Linked DNA regions of Homo sapiens: regions 1, 2, 3 and 5 are each linked to region 4. The links are contacts of gene promoters, found by promoter capture Hi-C in blood cells and fetal thymus (Javierre and others, 2016). All regions are on one chromosome and are shown on one strand. Each heading gives the region's core, a stretch centred on a gene start or on the middle of the fragment in contact. The rest is flanking DNA. Distances are from core to core; before and after follow the strand shown. Region 1 has its middle 2.9 kb from the start of COX6C. Region 2 overlaps CFAP418 (cilia and flagella associated protein 418). Region 3 overlaps POLR2K (RNA polymerase II, I and III subunit K). Region 4 holds the start of MTDH (metadherin). Region 5 overlaps CFAP418-AS1 (CFAP418 antisense RNA 1).

What was found. The method cuts DNA at HindIII sites, captures the fragments that hold promoters and counts their contacts. A CHiCAGO score of 5 or more calls a contact.
Region 1: a fragment that was not itself captured here is called in contact with the fragment with the promoter of MTDH in region 4 in 2 of 17 cell types (non-activated CD4 T cells and fetal thymus); the score reaches 7.7 in non-activated CD4 T cells.
Region 2: a contact is called between a fragment that was not itself captured here and the fragment with the promoter of MTDH in region 4, in 1 of 17 cell types (naive CD8 T cells). The highest score is 8.6, in naive CD8 T cells.
Region 3: a fragment that was not itself captured here is called in contact with the fragment with the promoter of MTDH in region 4 in 2 of 17 cell types (fetal thymus and non-activated CD4 T cells); the score reaches 11.3 in fetal thymus.
Region 5: a fragment that was not itself captured here is called in contact with the fragment with the promoter of MTDH in region 4 in 4 of 17 cell types (naive CD8 T cells, fetal thymus, total CD4 T cells and 1 more); the score reaches 11.6 in naive CD8 T cells.

The regions. Positions count from the first base shown.
Region 1 is chr8:99,895,032-99,898,280 of GRCh38, forward strand. No RefSeq gene overlaps it. Among named protein-coding and RNA genes, the nearest start is that of COX6C, 2.9 kb to the left of the region's middle. The HindIII fragment of the contact is 713 bases long and covers 1,074-1,786 here.
Region 2 is chr8:95,247,939-95,251,421 of GRCh38, forward strand. All of the region lies in intron 5 of CFAP418 (cilia and flagella associated protein 418), which reads right to left. Among named protein-coding and RNA genes, the nearest start is that of CFAP418-AS1, 19 kb to the right of the region's middle. The HindIII fragment of the contact is 1,582 bases long and covers 1,311-2,892 here.
Region 3 is chr8:100,151,967-100,155,393 of GRCh38, forward strand. It overlaps POLR2K (RNA polymerase II, I and III subunit K), which reads left to right. Exons shown (of 4, transcript NM_005034.4): 4 at 1,328-2,037. The coding sequence ends at 1,350. Among named protein-coding and RNA genes, the nearest start is that of POLR2K, 3.0 kb to the left of the region's middle. The HindIII fragment of the contact is 3,247 bases long and covers 178-3,424 here.
Region 4 is chr8:97,642,866-97,645,936 of GRCh38, forward strand. It overlaps MTDH (metadherin), which reads left to right and starts at 1,319. Exons shown (of 12, transcript NM_178812.4): 1 at 1,319-2,022. The coding sequence starts at 1,642. RefSeq lists silencers at 907-1,016, 1,197-1,656, 1,927-1,996, 2,280-2,448 and enhancers at 1,169-2,149, 2,150-3,071. The HindIII fragment of the contact is 3,502 bases long and covers 534-3,071 here.
Region 5 is chr8:95,270,835-95,274,106 of GRCh38, forward strand. All of the region lies in intron 1 of CFAP418-AS1 (CFAP418 antisense RNA 1), which reads left to right. Among named protein-coding and RNA genes, the nearest start is that of TRS-AGA2-5, 2.7 kb to the left of the region's middle. The HindIII fragment of the contact is 4,275 bases long and covers 1-3,272 here.

The DNA.
Region 1 (3,249 bases), core at 180-2,679, 2.3 Mb after region 4:
CAAATTTCTTCATCTTTCTAAGTCTGCTTTCTCCTCTAAAAATAGTACCCATTTTGTTGGGTTGTGATGTAAATTAAATGGGATAATGTATATGCAGCTTGAGTATCCCTTATCTGAAATATTTGAGACCAGAAGTGTTTCAGATTTTGGATTTTTTCAGATTTTTGAGTATTTGCAGAATACATGCCAGTTGAGCATCCCAATCTGAAAATCTGAAATCCAAAATGCTCCACTGAGCATTTCCTTGAGCATCACATCAGTGCTCAAAAAGTTTTGGATTTTGGAGCGTTTTGGATTTTGGATTTTCAGATTAAGGGTGTTCAACCTATACAGTGCTTGACAAACAGACATTCTGAATATGCATTCCTCCCTGTGTTCTTTTGCCTGTCCTGCATTCCTTCAATCTTTCTTTTAGTAGCAGTGCTTAATCAATCCTTCATCACTTCTAGCCATGTGATTCTACAACAGTCAAATCTTATTCCAGACTGGGTGTGGTGGCTCACACCTGTAATCCCAGCACTTTGGGAGGCCAAGGAAGGCAGATTACTTGAGCCCAGGTGTTGGAGACCAACCTGAGCAACATAGACCACCATCTCCATAAAAAACTTTAAAACTTAGCCGGGCATAGTGTGATTTATGCCTATAGTCCCAGCTACTCAGGAGGCTGAGGCTGGAGGATCACTTGAGCCCAAGAGTTGCAGGCTGTAGTGAGCTATGACTGCACCACTGTACTCCAGCCAGACAGAGTGAGACCCTGTCTTTAAAAAGAAAAAGAAAAAACATTATTCCAGTTGAGCAGATGACCCAAGAGTAGCCAAGCAATGTAGCCCATCCCCTTGGCCACAGTAATTTGTTGAGGATGGGCACAGGATTCTGGCCAGGCCAGTGAAACTCAATTCTATGACTTCTGTTGAAACTACTGGGGGAAAAGATATCTTTTTATAGAGAGAGGAGTTTGCATTGGGTTGCAGTAGGGGTCTTGCAGATCTGTGAGAGTATAAAGCCAGAGGGTACTGTGTGCCTATAATGTGCCAAGCACAGCACATGACAAAATGGCATGAAAAGCCTCATGAAGCTTTCATTCTAGTGGGCTTCGAGGAAAAAACCAACAAAAATAAAAAATATATCTGAAGGAGGTAAGTGGAATGGAAACAACAGAGTAGGGGTAAAGAAAGTCTGTGTGAAGAGGTATCTTTTTATATTGAAAGGTTGATGAAACAACCCATGAAACAAGCCCATGGTCTTCACTAAACTAAAAGATGCCTCAGTGGAAAGACTAGGCTTGTTCTGCATAGCCCTAAGGAATAAAGTAGGATGGATGGGTGGAAGATACTGGGAGTTAGATGTCAGTTAAGTATTCCCCATGGCTAGAAATCAGTCCCTTTCAAGGTCATCCTCAACCAGAGACACATCCACTTGGGGGAGACAAGGATCCCTTAATTGGTAAAGAGGCATACCAACAGTCTTGTTCCCACTATATCTCTCCATTCTGGCCTTGACAATCACCAGGTCAGCATGTTACCTTAAAATGTGTTGATAAGATGCCACTTTTTAAATACAAACTTAGGGGGAAGTGGGGTCCAGGGTAGGGAAACAGCTGGTTGCATGGCAAGAGTGATGCCGTCTTGAAGAAAAACTGCCATGATGACCGATGTTTGACTACTGCATACCAAGGTGTTTCCATGGCATGGATAAACCCTCATAAAGATGTTTATCTAACCTCCCCAGTGGTCACAAGTTTTGCTAGAAAGTCTGAGGCATGACCAGCTGCATGTTTTACCAAAAAAGCTTGCTATATAGAGGATATTTTCTGGAGCACAGATGCGGGGATCTACCATCCCTCAGCCAACAGAGAGATTGTTTCTGTTCCTAAGTCCCTTTTAAATGTTTCTTCCTGAGAAACTGGATTTGTCAGTCTCTCTCTTCAGCCTTTGGGGGCAAGTTTGCATAGACCTGCTCACCACTGTTCCTTGTTAACTGTGAATCCTGTCCTTAGGACAAAAGACCCTTGACCATTAATCTTTCCCTTAGGCAGATTTATCAGCCTCTTTTTCAGCCTTTCAGCTTCCTCAGACTTTTGGGGGTAGGTTTGCCTAGGCTGCCTACCGCAGCACACCCAGGAACATGCTGGCTCCTCCATCACTATCCTGCTCTGAACATGCTTTTGAGAAAACCTGACCTCTCACCTGTGCTGCAGCCTTTCCTATTGTGGAAAGTGTATACAACACCTAGAAAGGCAAATTACAATGCCAAGAGCTAAAAGGAATGAAATGGACCCTGAAACAAATTAGGCAGTAGTCACTCGGAAGAGTGGAAAACTTTCAATCCTTTTGACCATAAGGTATATCACTAATACAGTATCAGTGGGAAGGGCCAGAAATAATTTTATGGATTAAGAAAATGTGAGGGGCTCAGAAGTTAAAAAGCAACAACAGAAACAAGCTCTATCTGAGGTAAAATAGCAGCAGCTGCAATATTTGACAAACCTCAGAGGTAGATCTACTGACTCTTACATATAATTTATTTCCACTTTCAAATTTAACAAATAATGAGAGTGTTGAGTCAGAGTTAGATCCTAGAGTTCAGAGACAACAGGCTGGGCATGGTGGCTCACACCTGTAATCCCAGCACTTTGGAGGCCAAGGTGGGAGGATAACTTGAAGCCAGGAGTTCAAGGCCAGCCTGGGCAATATAGTGAGACCCCCATCCCTATAAAAAAAAAACCAAAACTTTTTTTTTTTTTAATTAGCCTGGTGTGGTGGCTCATGCCTGTAGTCTCAACTACTCAGGAGGCTGAGGCAGGAGGATCACTTGATCCCAGGAGTTCAAGACTGCAGTTAGTGAGCTACACTGCACTCTAGCCTGGGTGACAGAGTAAGACCCTGTCTCTAATGGAGAGATAGAGAAAGAGAGAGAGAGAGAGAGAGGCATTTTTCTCTTTACTATTCATTATTACCAAGAAAATCTAGGATTTCAGAGATGCAGCCCAATAATGTAACTAGACTTCCTATTCTGCCTTCCCACTGATTAATAAATAAGAAATCACCAGCCAGATTCAACAGGGAAACTTATCTGAAAGTGGACAGGAAAAAAGGAGGCATATTCTTTCCCCTAGAATTATATTCTAAGAATTCAGTTGAGGATATGGACCATCACAAGGCTTGAGTCTGGGGTACTTTATTTGACCTGACTATATCCAACATGTAAATAAGGATCCAAGGGAACTCATAAGGGCTAATAAAACAATAC
Region 2 (3,483 bases), core at 852-3,351, 2.4 Mb before region 4:
GACCTCCCAGGCTTCCCCTCAGCCTTCCAAGTAGCTGAGACCACAGGCATGTGCCACTATGCCCGGCTTAAAAAATTTTTTTTTGTAGAGATGAGGTCTCAGTATGTTGTCCAGGTTGATCTCAAACTCCTGGGCTCAAGTGATCCATCCACCTCAGCCTCCCAAAGTGCTGAGATTGCAGGCATGAACCATGGTGCCCAGCCTATTTTCTTATCTTCCCCGTATCTGAACACTAAACAACCTAGATCCCCTCACACTAACACTAGAAGATATGCTTCAGTGTTCTCTTTCTGATGGTATTTCTTTGATAATCTGTACTTTTTATGGCAATCCTCTAGGCCAGTTTATTGAATGTTGAAGAACACAATAACCTAAAGGCTGAAGAATTACAAACGCCCTATCAGAGATGAAATAATATGAAAATAGGGTGGAAAGGATGGTGGTTCATTTCCTACCTCAGATACTCACCTATGCCATATTTTAAAAGCCTGTAATATGGCAAGTTGAGAGAACATTAGAGGCATAAAGATCATAGGTTTCTGATGAATTAACTATAGAAAATTTTCATTAGCTTCAATGATCTGTTTATTCATACTATCAGCAACAAAAATGTCTATCCTGAAATAAATATTAATAATGTTGAAATAATTAAATCAACAAGTAGGGCCATCGTAAAAATGATAAACACTGGATTTCATACTATTATAAAAAAGACTACAGAAGTTTAATTAATAAAAACATCAATTATGATTTCATGATAATCCATGTAATGAGTTCATATAAACATTCCATGGCAAAGAAAAGTAGAAAAAATTTTTAAAAAAGATGAAAAAATACAAAGTGAAAGGACGAAATACAGTATGAATACCAGAAAAAGAGATACGGTACCTAACCATTGCTTGTGGATATCACTGCAACAGAAGGCAGGCTACAAAGTGCCCTCTGGTGGTCAATGGGCACCATATTCAGTATTAAACTGTACGAAATTCAGGCACAATTTAGAAGGTTAGAACCTCACAAAACCTGACAGATTTTCCAAGCCAACTGTCTGACTTCAGGAAACAGACTGACTAGCTAAACGACTTAGCTAAGGGAAGAAATGAATAATCTAAATTTTAACAGAAAGAAAAAAACCCCGCCAAAACTAAGTTGTTGAGGAAAAATGTCCTTTATTTGATCTGCAAAATATTTTGAAAACTTAACATTTGATACTTGACTGAATCCTTAGCGATTTTAGGATTAGGAATCATGAATAGGCAGGGATCTAATTATGACATTTGAAATGGTTTTTAAAATGCACGTATCTTAAAAGCTTAGGGAAAAATCATTCCATTCTTAAAGAAAACACGATTTAATAGAAAAATAAAAGCATTTTCTTCAGCTGTTGTGGCAAGGTGGTCAGTAAGTATAGCTGACACTTCTTTTACAATGTTCTAAAACTTGTCTGGGTGTGGTGGGTCATGCCTGTAATCCCTGCACTTTGGGGAGCCAAGGTGGGTGGACCACTTGAGCTCAGGAGTTCGAGACCAGCATGGGCAACATGGTGAGACCCCATCTCTACAAAATTAGCTGGATGTGGTAGTGCGCACCTGTATTCCTAGCTGCTCGAGAGGCTGAGGCCGAAGGATCCTTTCAATCTGGGAAGTGGAGGTTGCAGTGAGCTGAAACTGCAGTCCTGCACTCTAGCCTGGGTAACAGGGTTTGCAAGATTGGCTCAGAAAAAAAAAAAAAGTTCTAAAACTTCTCAAAGATAGGATACATTTATTTCTCTCATCTGTAAAATAGGACAATAAAACAACTGCACAGCATTCCACTGTGTAACATTTAACTTGTCTTTGGTCACTGTCCACTTCTGGTTTCCTCAGTGATTATTCCACATCCTCCTCCACTCCCTTATTTTCAGCAGATCACATCTTCATTCTCAAAACCAGGTCGCCAGGTATGAAAGCCTTCAATTTCCTGGCAAGCTCACCCTGAACACATCAGTACCTTGCTGGCTTCCTCTCAGTCACAGAGGTCTTCCTTTTCCTATCCAAGGCTCACCTCCCATCAGTGCTCTTGACCCTATTGTCTCTATGACCTTGCTGCTCACATGCTTGTCCCCACCCATGTCTCCCTTCCCCTGGGTTCCTCTCATCTTATGAGCCCAGTATCTAAGAGTGTCATAGACTAGGTGCTGAATAATGTCTACTGGTAAACACCAATATATTGTACAAAATAAATCTATCAGTGATTTATATCCTAATGGTGGAGACCGCCTTATTCTTTAGCTGTTCCATTCTCTTATCTCCCAAACATATTCCTAAGTGTCTTGAGAACTGAGACAGTATTTTCTACTGATTTAAATAATGACTACTTGTTTATTTTTAATAGTATAATAAATCCTCTAGTTGTCACTGTTTTATCTAAAAGTACATATATTTTTTAAACCAGGCTGCCACAGATCTAGGGTAAACCAACTGGTGTTCTTGATAACTCTGAGATGCTGCAAGTTCCTCAAGTACCGACTAGGTTATCCATAGTTTACTTTATGCCTGTGTTCACCACTGCCTTGATGTTACATGCATTTTATTATCCTATGATAGTTTTATAAAAATTCATGCTTCATCTTGGTGACATATGGGGATTATTAACCACTTATTAGATTAACTAGTAGACAGTAAATAGCAGAGGGTTTAGAAAAGTCAGAAAAGGGAAAGTCAACCTGTAATTAAAAGCCAACTTTTCCACTTATGGGGTAAAAAGTGGGCTAAGCCTAAAAGTATGGGTTCCTAACCTCAGATTTTGGGAGTACATTAGGCTTTATTTGGGTTGGAAACTGTAAAATTTTTCAAGTTATAATTTTTCCATGTATTTTTATATTTGAATTGTATGTGTATGAGGGGCATTCAAAGCTTTCATAAGATTTGCAAAGTGGTTCTTGATGTGAAAAAGTTTAAAAACTATTAAATTAGGGTATACTCATAGATTTACCCAAGAATGGCTGCCAAAAAAGGCGTAGGGGAAAGTCTCTTACCCTTTTCTTTATGCTATTGAAAAGTGCTGCAATATTACACTGTATTAATTTTTAGCTTTAAATTTTTATTTGAAAATGTCAATGTAAAGTTCAAATATATTTTTATAACTTGTAACACCTTAAAGATAGTAGGTATTCTGTAAGTGTATAAGAATGTACAAATTATATAAATATGAGCAAGACATTATCTCAGCCACAAGGAGGGAGGTAGTCATACACCAACCTAAGAGCTTCAGTTTTATATTACAGTATATAATAGGTCCAAAGCACCGTGAATACACAGGAAGGGAAGAGTTTTCTTCCAGTTGAGAGAGTGGTGAAAGAATCATGGAAGACATGTGATGAATTATACTCTGAAGGACAGGTAGGGTTTAGGTAGATAAAATGGTGGGAAGGCATCCCAAGAGGTAAAGAGGTTGTACAAAGTCAGAGGGAATGGGAGCCTTGAGTACTCTGATGTAGCTAAA
Region 3 (3,427 bases), core at 551-3,050, 2.5 Mb after region 4:
TGCTGGGGTTGATAAAGATTAATTTCTGGTTAAAATGATAACTTTCTGGATTACAGTACTTAAAAAACAAACATGATTAGCATTTTCATGGACCAATGCATAGGCTCTAAATAATCTAAATAATGCTAGTTGATTTTGGTTCTCATAAATTTATTTTTTAGGGATTCTGTGCAGTCAAGCTTGAGGATAGGGATACATTCTGAGAATTGTGTCCTTAAGCAATTTCATCATTCCTACAGAAACCTAGACCGTATATCCTACTATACATACACATCTAGGCTATATGGTATAGCTTATTGCTGCTAGGCTACACACCTGTACAGCATGCTATTGTACTGAATAGACAATTGTAACACAATGTTTTTGTATATCTGAACATAGAAAAGGTACAGCAAAAATAGAGTATAATCTTATGCGACCACTGTTTATATGTGCTCCATCTTTGACCAAAACGTCATTATGGGTGCATGACTACATTTATATAAGTATTCATTCTTGAGCTTCAGTTTATGGACAAGCTAAAGTTCACGAGGAGAAATACAAATATTGTGTATACTACCTAATGGAAAAAGTTGGGCATACAAATTGTTCAAATACTGAGAGTAGGCCCAGCATGGTTGCTCACACCTATAATCCCAGCACTTTGGGAGGCTGCAGGAGTTCAAGACCAGCCTGGGCAACATAGTGTGACCCCCATGTGGAAAAATAAAATACAGAGTAAATTGTTATGATACAACTAACACACATTGTAAATCGACGGATTATCCGCTTTAACATTACTTTAGTGTTTTTTTTTGTTTGTTTTTTGTTTTTTTTTGAGACGGAGTCTCGCTCTGTCACCCAGGCTGGTGTGCAGTGACGCAATCTCGGCTCACATTGCAAGCTCTGCCTTCCGGGTTCATGGCATTCTCCTGCCTCAGCCTCCTGAGTAGCTGGGACTACAGGCACCCGCCACCATGCCCGGCTAATTTTTTTTATTTTTTAGTAAAGATGGGGTTTCACCATGTTAGCCAGGATGGTCTCGATCTCCTGACCTCGTGATCCGCCCACCTCAGCCTCCCAAAGTACTGGGATTACAGGCGTGAGCCACTGCGCCTGGCCTGCTTTAGTGTTTTTTGATACATTTTATGGAAAAGGTGGTAATAAAAATTGAAAGTGTTTTTAGTTTATTTAAAAACCAGTTGTCATAGTAAATAGTGAATTCCATTCTTTTTTGCATTTTAAGTTAAATAACAAACCAGCTTATTGCAAAGAGAAAGTGACTTTGAAACCTTCAGTCTTAATAATGTTTAAGTACCGTTTTTGTCCTTAACTCAAATTAATACAGTGGTCGTTTTTGATGCTCGATGAATGCTGGGAATTCAGAGGAATGTCTTCACTTATACTTGGATTTGCTCTCTTCCCATTTCTGATTGTTGTATAGCTTTCGATTTTGCTTACAGTAGTTCCCCCTTATCTTCGGGAGATACATTCCAAGGCCCCCAGTGAACTCCTGAAACCTCAAACAGTACCAAACCTTTATACACTGTTTTTTCCATATATATATACCTATGATAAAGTATAATGTATAAATTAAGCATAGCAAGAGATTAATAATAATGTAATAGAACAATGATAACATACTATAATAAAAGTTATGTGAATGTGGTTGGTCTCTCTTGCTTTCAAAATATCTTCTTGTACAGTACTCACCTATTTTAGAATGTGGTTGACTACAGGTAACCAAAACCACAGAAAGGGAAACTTTGGATGAGGGGGGCACTACTGTACTTAGGAATACAACTATATACATATGATTTTATTTTTAAGACCATATTATATTTGGGTATCTACTAATATTTTGTATAAAGCAATTTTTTGTTCCATTACGTGACTTTTTGTTTTATTGTATATGTAATTTAACACACAATAAAGGGTAAAGTTGCTTCCCCAAACCACACTTTTAATCAAAACCTAGAATCATCTGCAGTCCTTGTTAAAAATGCAGGTTTCTAGAACCCTCTGAAGTTCTGATTAAATAAATTTATTGCAAACCACTGTCCTGTGTCACTGTGTCATTTGATATGAAGTATACCATTGTGCTTGGTGTCAGTATGCATATGTCATCTTGAGTTCAGTTTTTCATTTATTACTAGGTATAGGCCTTTCTGTATTTTCATATAATGCTTGGTTCTCTTTTAAATCTCAGAATAATGAAGGGAAACTTTAATTGTTTTCTGTAAGGCAAAATCAACCCCAAGCAAAGTGAATGAAGCAGGCTGTTAAGCCAAGTGCAGTTTCCAAGGTGTAATCACTCATTAAGGTCAACAGTTCTGCTTTTAGGATATAAAAAGAACAGGCAGTGACTCGGGAGGCTGAGATGGGAGGATCACTTGAACCCAAGAGTTTGAGGCTGCAGTGAGCCATAATCATGCTGCTGCACTCCAGCCTGATGGACAGTGCAACACCCTGAGTCAAGGGCTGGGGAGGGGAGCGTTGGTTTACACTGAATTATTGGATAAATGTTTAAGTCTTCAGCCTTGATCTTTGGGATGTAGAATTAATGGTCACACTTATACGCTATTCTGTTCAAGGATTCCATGGTTGTGGAATGTCATGTTGGCCAGCCTGATGTGCATTTTAAAGATTAGATGTATTCCAACTTTATTAATAGTTATGTCTGTCTTTGACATTCAAAATATTGTCCATAATACTTTGTTAAAAAAAACCCTGCATTTTTACCACCATCTTCATATATTAAATTCTATAAATTTATTACATGCTATATGAAATACTTCCATGCTCAGATTTTTGTTTTGTTTTGTTTTTTTAAGACCGGGTCTCCCTCTGTTGTCCAGACTGGAGTGCAGTGGCATGATCATAGCTCACTACAGCCTCCATCTCCCAGGCTTACACAATCTTCTCACCTCAGCTTCCTGAATAGCTGGGACTGCAAGCACACACCACCATGCTGGCTGATTATTTTGATTTTTAGTAGAGATGAAGTCTCACTACATTGCCCAGGCTGGCAATGAAATTGAGCTTTCATAATTTTATAATTTTAGTATATTCCTTCTTGAACTTTTTAGATATGGGAGTCTCAATACATGGTATTTCTTTATGACAGTTCCCTAAACAGATAAATCCCCAACTTATGGGATAATATACTTCTCTTAACTCTTCTCATTTTAGACTAAGTCCTTTGCATATCAGTAGTTTAATTGAATATTGTTATCTGGTTAACTGGGCAGAATAACTTCATGCAAAATGTATTACAGCTGGAACTCAGACTGCTTTCAGTCAGCCACTTTTTGTGCTCCCTTCATGTATAAACTAGATGTAATTTTACCTCTTACCTACCTAGACAGTTTCAAGGAAAAAACTGATATAAAATTGCTTTTAAAACATTCTTTTGACTAGTGCTCTGTCAATATGAAAATTAGTAAGC
Region 4 (3,071 bases), core at 69-2,568:
ATTTAGTTCACTTAAGACAGTTGCTTACACGCTAATGATCATTTACCGATAAAATACAGAGTTTCCTTATAGCAAAATATAATCTTAAAACCCTAAGGCAGCCTTCAAGCATTTCCCTTATAATTAAAACCTGAAGGCCTGGCGTGGTGGCTCACGCCTGTAATCCCAGCACTTTGGGAGGCTGAGGTGGGCGGATCACGAGGTCAGGAGATCAAGACCATCCTGGCTAACACGGTGAAACCCCGTCTCTACTAAAAATACAAAAAATTAGCCGGGCGTGGTGGTGGGTGCCTATAGTCCCAGCTGCTCGGGAGGCTGAGGCAGGAGAATGGCTTGAACCCAGGAGGCGGACCTTGCAGTGAGCGGAGATAGTGCCACTGCACTCCAGCCCGGGCGACAGAGCGAGACTCTTGTCTCAAAAAAAAAAAATTTGAAAAGGCAGTTCGTTTCCTTCTATAGCTGCATCCCAGAGATGGTCAACATAGCATATAAAAATGGAATTTTTGCAAACCCCTTTTGCAGTGTTGTAGAAAAGCTTAAAATAAAACGTAACGAGAAAGCTCCCTCCATAAGTAAATACAATCTAATGTGCTTCCCCTTATGTGTTATTAAAGCTACAAATTAGTAGGAAAAGAATAGTGCCGCCCACGGGCTTTCCAACTTTTGAATTCTGGGGACTAACAACAGAGAGCAAGAGTGAATGAGCCAAACGACGCAAACGTGCCCTCGCCAGGCTGGCAACTGGTAGGCACGCAGTGTATTAGTTGCCCTGGAGAGAAACACCCTGGAGAGAAATACCCAATTTGTGAACTAAACCTAGGTCCCGGAAGAACAGTGTTCGGCGTCAGACTCCGTTGAGCTCATTCTGGAAGGATCCAACTGGCGCCACCAGGGAGAAAAAGCGATTCCACCTCAATAACACTCCAGAAAAAGGCATGAAGAGCCCTATACCTGCCAGGGCGACTTTGACCTAGACCCGGTGACCCGGTTCCTAGCGCTGCAGCCCTACCCGCCCCCCGCCCGCCCCCGCCTTGCACGGAGCCCCTCCTCTGTACTCATTCGTTGCGCCACGTCTCCTAACTCTGCGCCACCAGCCACCCCGCGAAGGCGTCCACCAATTAACCCCTCCCAGCTTCTGGTCTACAGTAACGGGTCCCCAACGCCGCGTCTTAACCAGGCCCGAACCGACCACCGCCAACCTTCCCTGACACGCCTTTGCCCCACCCGACCCCGCCCGCCCCCACGTGACGCCCACGCCCCGCCCACTGGCGCCCACGTGACCCACGGTCGTCCCCGCGCGCGGCGTGGATCGCGGCCCAAGCCGCCATTGTTCCGCCGAGGGAGGACAGCGGGGCCTGGCGCTGGCGCCGAGACGCCGCTTAGCGGCCGCCACTGGAGACACTCCCTCCCGCCTCCCGGGTCTCCTGGCGGCGGCGGAGTGAGGCTGACAGCGGGGAACCTGGGAGACCCCTCCGCCCTCCCCGCGGTGGCAGCGGCCGATCCCCGGCTCCGGCGCGAGGGACGGCCGCGATGCGCTCGGCCTGAGGTTACCCGGCCCGGCCCTTCCTCGCTTCCCTCGACTATTCCACTGCGTCTCCGCGCCCCGGCGTCATCCTGCGAGTCCCTCTGACGGGAGGGAAGATGGCTGCACGGAGCTGGCAGGACGAGCTGGCCCAGCAGGCCGAGGAGGGCTCGGCCCGGCTGCGGGAAATGCTCTCGGTCGGCCTAGGCTTTCTGCGCACCGAGCTGGGCCTCGACCTGGGGCTGGAGCCGAAACGGTACCCCGGCTGGGTGATCCTGGTGGGCACTGGCGCGCTCGGGCTGCTGCTGCTGTTTCTGCTGGGCTACGGCTGGGCCGCGGCTTGCGCCGGCGCCCGCAAAAAGCGGAGGAGCCCGCCCCGCAAGCGGGAGGAGGCGGCGGCCGTGCCGGCCGCGGCCCCCGACGACCTGGCCTTGCTGAAGAATCTCCGGAGCGAGGAACAGAAGAAGAAGAACCGGAAGAAACTGTCCGAGAAGCCCAAAGTGAGTATGGGATGAGCGGCAGTAGAGAACGGGCGAAGGGCGGGCGTGGAGACCCTCGAGCTTGGGGGAGGCCGCGCCCCAGCCGGGAAGGAAAAGAGTGCTTAGTCGAAAGCCGAGAGGCAGCACTCCCAAGTGGAGGAGGAGGTGATAGGTGGTCATGTTATTTGGGGAATGGGGGGAACTCAGGAAGTATAGGACGAGTGGGGAAGCCCAGTTTCGAGGAAGGAAGTTAGGAGGTCTGGGGGTCCGTTCAGATAGGCGCCCAGAGGTCAAGCCATCTTTGGGAACCGTCACCGCTAGAATAAGCACAGCATCCTTCCTTGAGGCCTGCAGAGTAGGCTGCATGTGGAGCGTAATGGGACCTTAAGGTGGTGTTAGGAAGTTGTATAAAGACTGCGCTCGGAAGACAGATGTCTATCTCAAGTCACATTGAGACAGTAGGCAGTGGAAGAAGTGCGGTGACCTAGAAATTCTGGGGCTTACACAGGATTAAAGGTGTCCAGGTCTAGACGCGCTTCCATTTTAGTTGGGACTGTTAAAGGGAAATGGTTGCCCATTCTTGTTCTGGCAAATGTGGCCAACAGAGGCCGGAACGGGAGCAAGGCAAGAGGGGGTCGGTTACCTAATACGCTTTGAGGTGTATGGTCCTGTGAGAAAGAGCTAAGGCGAGTTCAACGAACGAGTCTGTTGCACACTCTGTGGCGTGGTAGATTTGTGAAATAGAGTAAAGGGAGATGACAGGGCAGAATGGTGAAAGCCGAGAGAGGAATTCAGGCACCGATTTACTGGGCCACGTGTGGAAGTTGCAGAGGGCATCACGTCTGTCTTAGGCCTTCATGTTTTACGTTTACATTCTTTATTGCCATTCCCATGGTTCTCCCATTATATCTTTCATAGTTTTATGTATTTTTAAAAATATTTTACATTTGAGCAAATTGAGACTATGGAGGGTATGCAGAGTTAGAAACAGCACCTAACCTATTTTTATATCCAGCGAATTAAGATCTTCACCTTTTCAGTACAATTCAGTAAGCCAGTACGAAGGCCCT
Region 5 (3,272 bases), core at 773-3,272, 2.4 Mb before region 4:
ATCAAACTGTCATTTAGTAGAACACCCCATGTTACCATCAGACCAACTGTGAATATTCTCAGCAAGGCAACACTCCCCTTTTCTGCAGGGCTGCTCTATTTATTGTCTCTGAATCTTTGTTTTAGCTATTAGAATCCTGGCCTAAACACACACACACACACACACACACACACACACACAAATATGCATATAAACATATATGTATATTTACACACACAGGGGAAACTAGCATTTTTATGCAAAATACTTAACATTGAGCACTGACCACTCAGATCAGACACTGTCAGGATGCTTAAGTAGTATCCTAGAGGCACCCTGACATGTATTACCCTTGTAGTCAGAGTAGAGAACTCTAGAGGGTGGGGAGACAATGTTGGGGCAAGGAGGGGACTCGGACACTAGTTATTTGTCTAGAATCCTGGCATATTCTATGATTTCCAACTAATTAATTTTTTAAAGTTTTTTTCCAAGTTGCCTTGCTGGGCGATTTTACCTAGAACCGGTCTCTAGCAGAAAGGCAAGGAAAAGCTGCTTGAAAAAGCGGTCCTTGCAACATGGTTCCAGGGGAAGTCATAGTTAGTGGCCATCCAGTTTAACAGGCTTACATTAATGATTTGATTTTGCTCTTGAGAAGATGAAATCTGAGGGGATCTGTACCAATGTTGAAAGTATCTGTTAGCGGCCGGGCGCGGTGGCTCACGCCTGTAATCCCAGCACTTTGGGAGGCCGAGGCGGGCGGATCACGAGGTCAGGAGATGGAGACCATCCTGGCTAACACGGTGAAACCCCGTCTTTACTAAAAATACAAAAAATTAGCTGAGCGTGGTGGCGGGCGCCTGTACTGGCAGCTACTCGGGAGGTTGAGGCAGGAGAATGGCGTGAACCCGGGAGGCGGAGCTTGCAGTGAGCCAAGATCGCGCCACAGCACTCCAGCTTGGGCCACAGAGCGAGACTCCGTCTCAAAAAAAAAAAAAAAAAAAAAAAAGAATCTATTAGCGTGTAGAAGATTTGCAATGAGAGATGGTGAAAAAATAAAAGAGAAAATGTTTCTGGTTTTCTGTGTTTTGTTTTTTGTGTATATTAGAAAAAAATTAGTGTGTTCCCTCGCTCCCTCACTTCTACTCCCATTTTTCTGGTCTTTTGATTGGATAATTTATTCCGTTTACATTTTAAAATTTCATTTTATTGATTTTATTTACTTTCAGTAGCTTTTGGGGTACAAGCGGTTTTTGGTTACATGGATGAATTGTATAGTGGTGAAGTCTGAAATTTTAGTGCACCTGTCACCCGAGTAGTGTACATTATACCCAAAAGGTAGTGTTCTTTTTTTTTTTTTTTTTTTCCCAGACGGAGTTTTGCTCTTGCTGCCCAGGCTGGAGTGTGCAATGGTTTGATCTCTGCTCACCACAACCTCTGCTTCCTGGGTTCAAGTGATTCTCCTGCCTCAGCCTCCCAAGTAGCTGGGATTACAGGCATGTGCCACCATGCCGGGCTAATTTTGTATTTTTAGTAGAGACAGGGTTTCTCCATGCTGTTCAGGCTGGTCTCGAACTCCTGACCTCAGGTGATCCGCCCGCCTCAGCCTCCCAAAGTGCTGGGATTACAGGCGTGAGCCATCACACCCAGCCTCCAATAGATAGTGTTACTATCCTTTACCCCTCACCCGTCCTCCTCTCTTCTGAGTCTCCAGTGTCCATTATGCCACTCTGTATGCCTTTGTGTACCCATAAATTAACTCCTACTTACGAGTGAGAACATATGATACTTGGTTTTCCATTCCTGCCCACTCCCATTTTAATAAAATGGATGTATGGATCATCCAGAGTTTGGTATTTTGAGAATTTCATTTATGGCTCATTCAACTCTCCGGTGGGTCTCCTGACTTGAGTCATGTTCTCTTTCTGGTTTGCCACCGAGAGTGAAAGGTTGAGTTCAGAGTCTACAAGGAGAAATGCCATATGTCACATAAGAGTAACATATGTGTATGGCTGTGTGATAAACTGTAAAATTACAGTGCACTATTAAAATCTCCAGATGTCAGAAAGAAAGTTATACAGTTAAAAATTCAGTGGGCTCTAAACAATGGATGTGGATGTATAAGATGAAGGTAGTGTGGCTTTAGAAGATTCTACATTCAGGCAAATCCTATTAGATCATTTTTTTTTAAACCGGGCTATAAATTCCTTTGGTATAACTTTCTGTTTAACTAACAATCTTATTTCTTTCTCCATAATTGTTAACGTGTGTAGACAATGTCGTGAATCCTTGTCCCCTGTCTTTCCCAGTCATGGAAAGCATGCTGAGTGTCAGGTATTTCGTAAAGAATAGGCAAGTGCCTCCAGGTGATACAATTATTAACATGGTAAAGGAGACCGGGTGCCGTGGCTCATGCCTGTAATCCCAGTACTTTGGGAGGCCAAGGCGAGCGGATCACTTGAGCCCAGGAGTTTGAGACAGCCCAGGTGACATGGCAAAACGCTGTCTCTAACAAAAAAATTACAAAAATTAGCCAGGCATGGCAGCGCTGCACCTGTGGTCCCAGGTATGTGGTAGACTGAGGTGGGAGGATGGCTTGAGCTCAGGAGGTGGAGGCCGCAGTGAGCCGAGATAGTGCCACTGAACTTTAGCCTGGGTAAGAGAATGAGACTGTCTTAAAAACAAAACAAAAAACATGGTAAAGGGGCATGTCATGTATTATTACATTCACTTAGTATTCAAGGAAGTATTTTAGGTAAAAGGTGTCCAAATTAGGAAACCAAAGCACTGTTGGCTTTCCCAAGAATCTGAAGAACTCTCTGAGCCTGGTTTCTTGCTAGCACCATTATAAATGAGTTAGAGGTGGTGAGGCAGCTGGTTCTGCTGTCCCACGCCGCCTCAGGCCAACTGCTTCAGTTACAAGGTGTTCTGTAATCTCCCTGGCTGCTCACATAATGAATTGCAAGGCTTCTTTGAATTCCCATGTACTTAGGTTTAATTTTCCCTTCCCTGCATCTTTCCCCTGCATACTGCAGGCCTTTTAAACAAATACCCACTGGTGGGCGGTGACATTGGCATGAGGGGAGGCATCCTCCTGGATCAGTTGCAAGCCTCCTAGCAGCTGATGCCATGGAAGAATGGAGTAGCACCGAAGCAGCTCCAGTTCTTTTAAGTGGTCCCTGAATTAGGCCTCGATGTCATGTAGGTAAATTCAGCCCAGAACATGCAGAATCTTTATTGGAATTTGTACATTCATCTCTCACAGCTGTGGAGAGTTTAGACTAATCACAACTCTC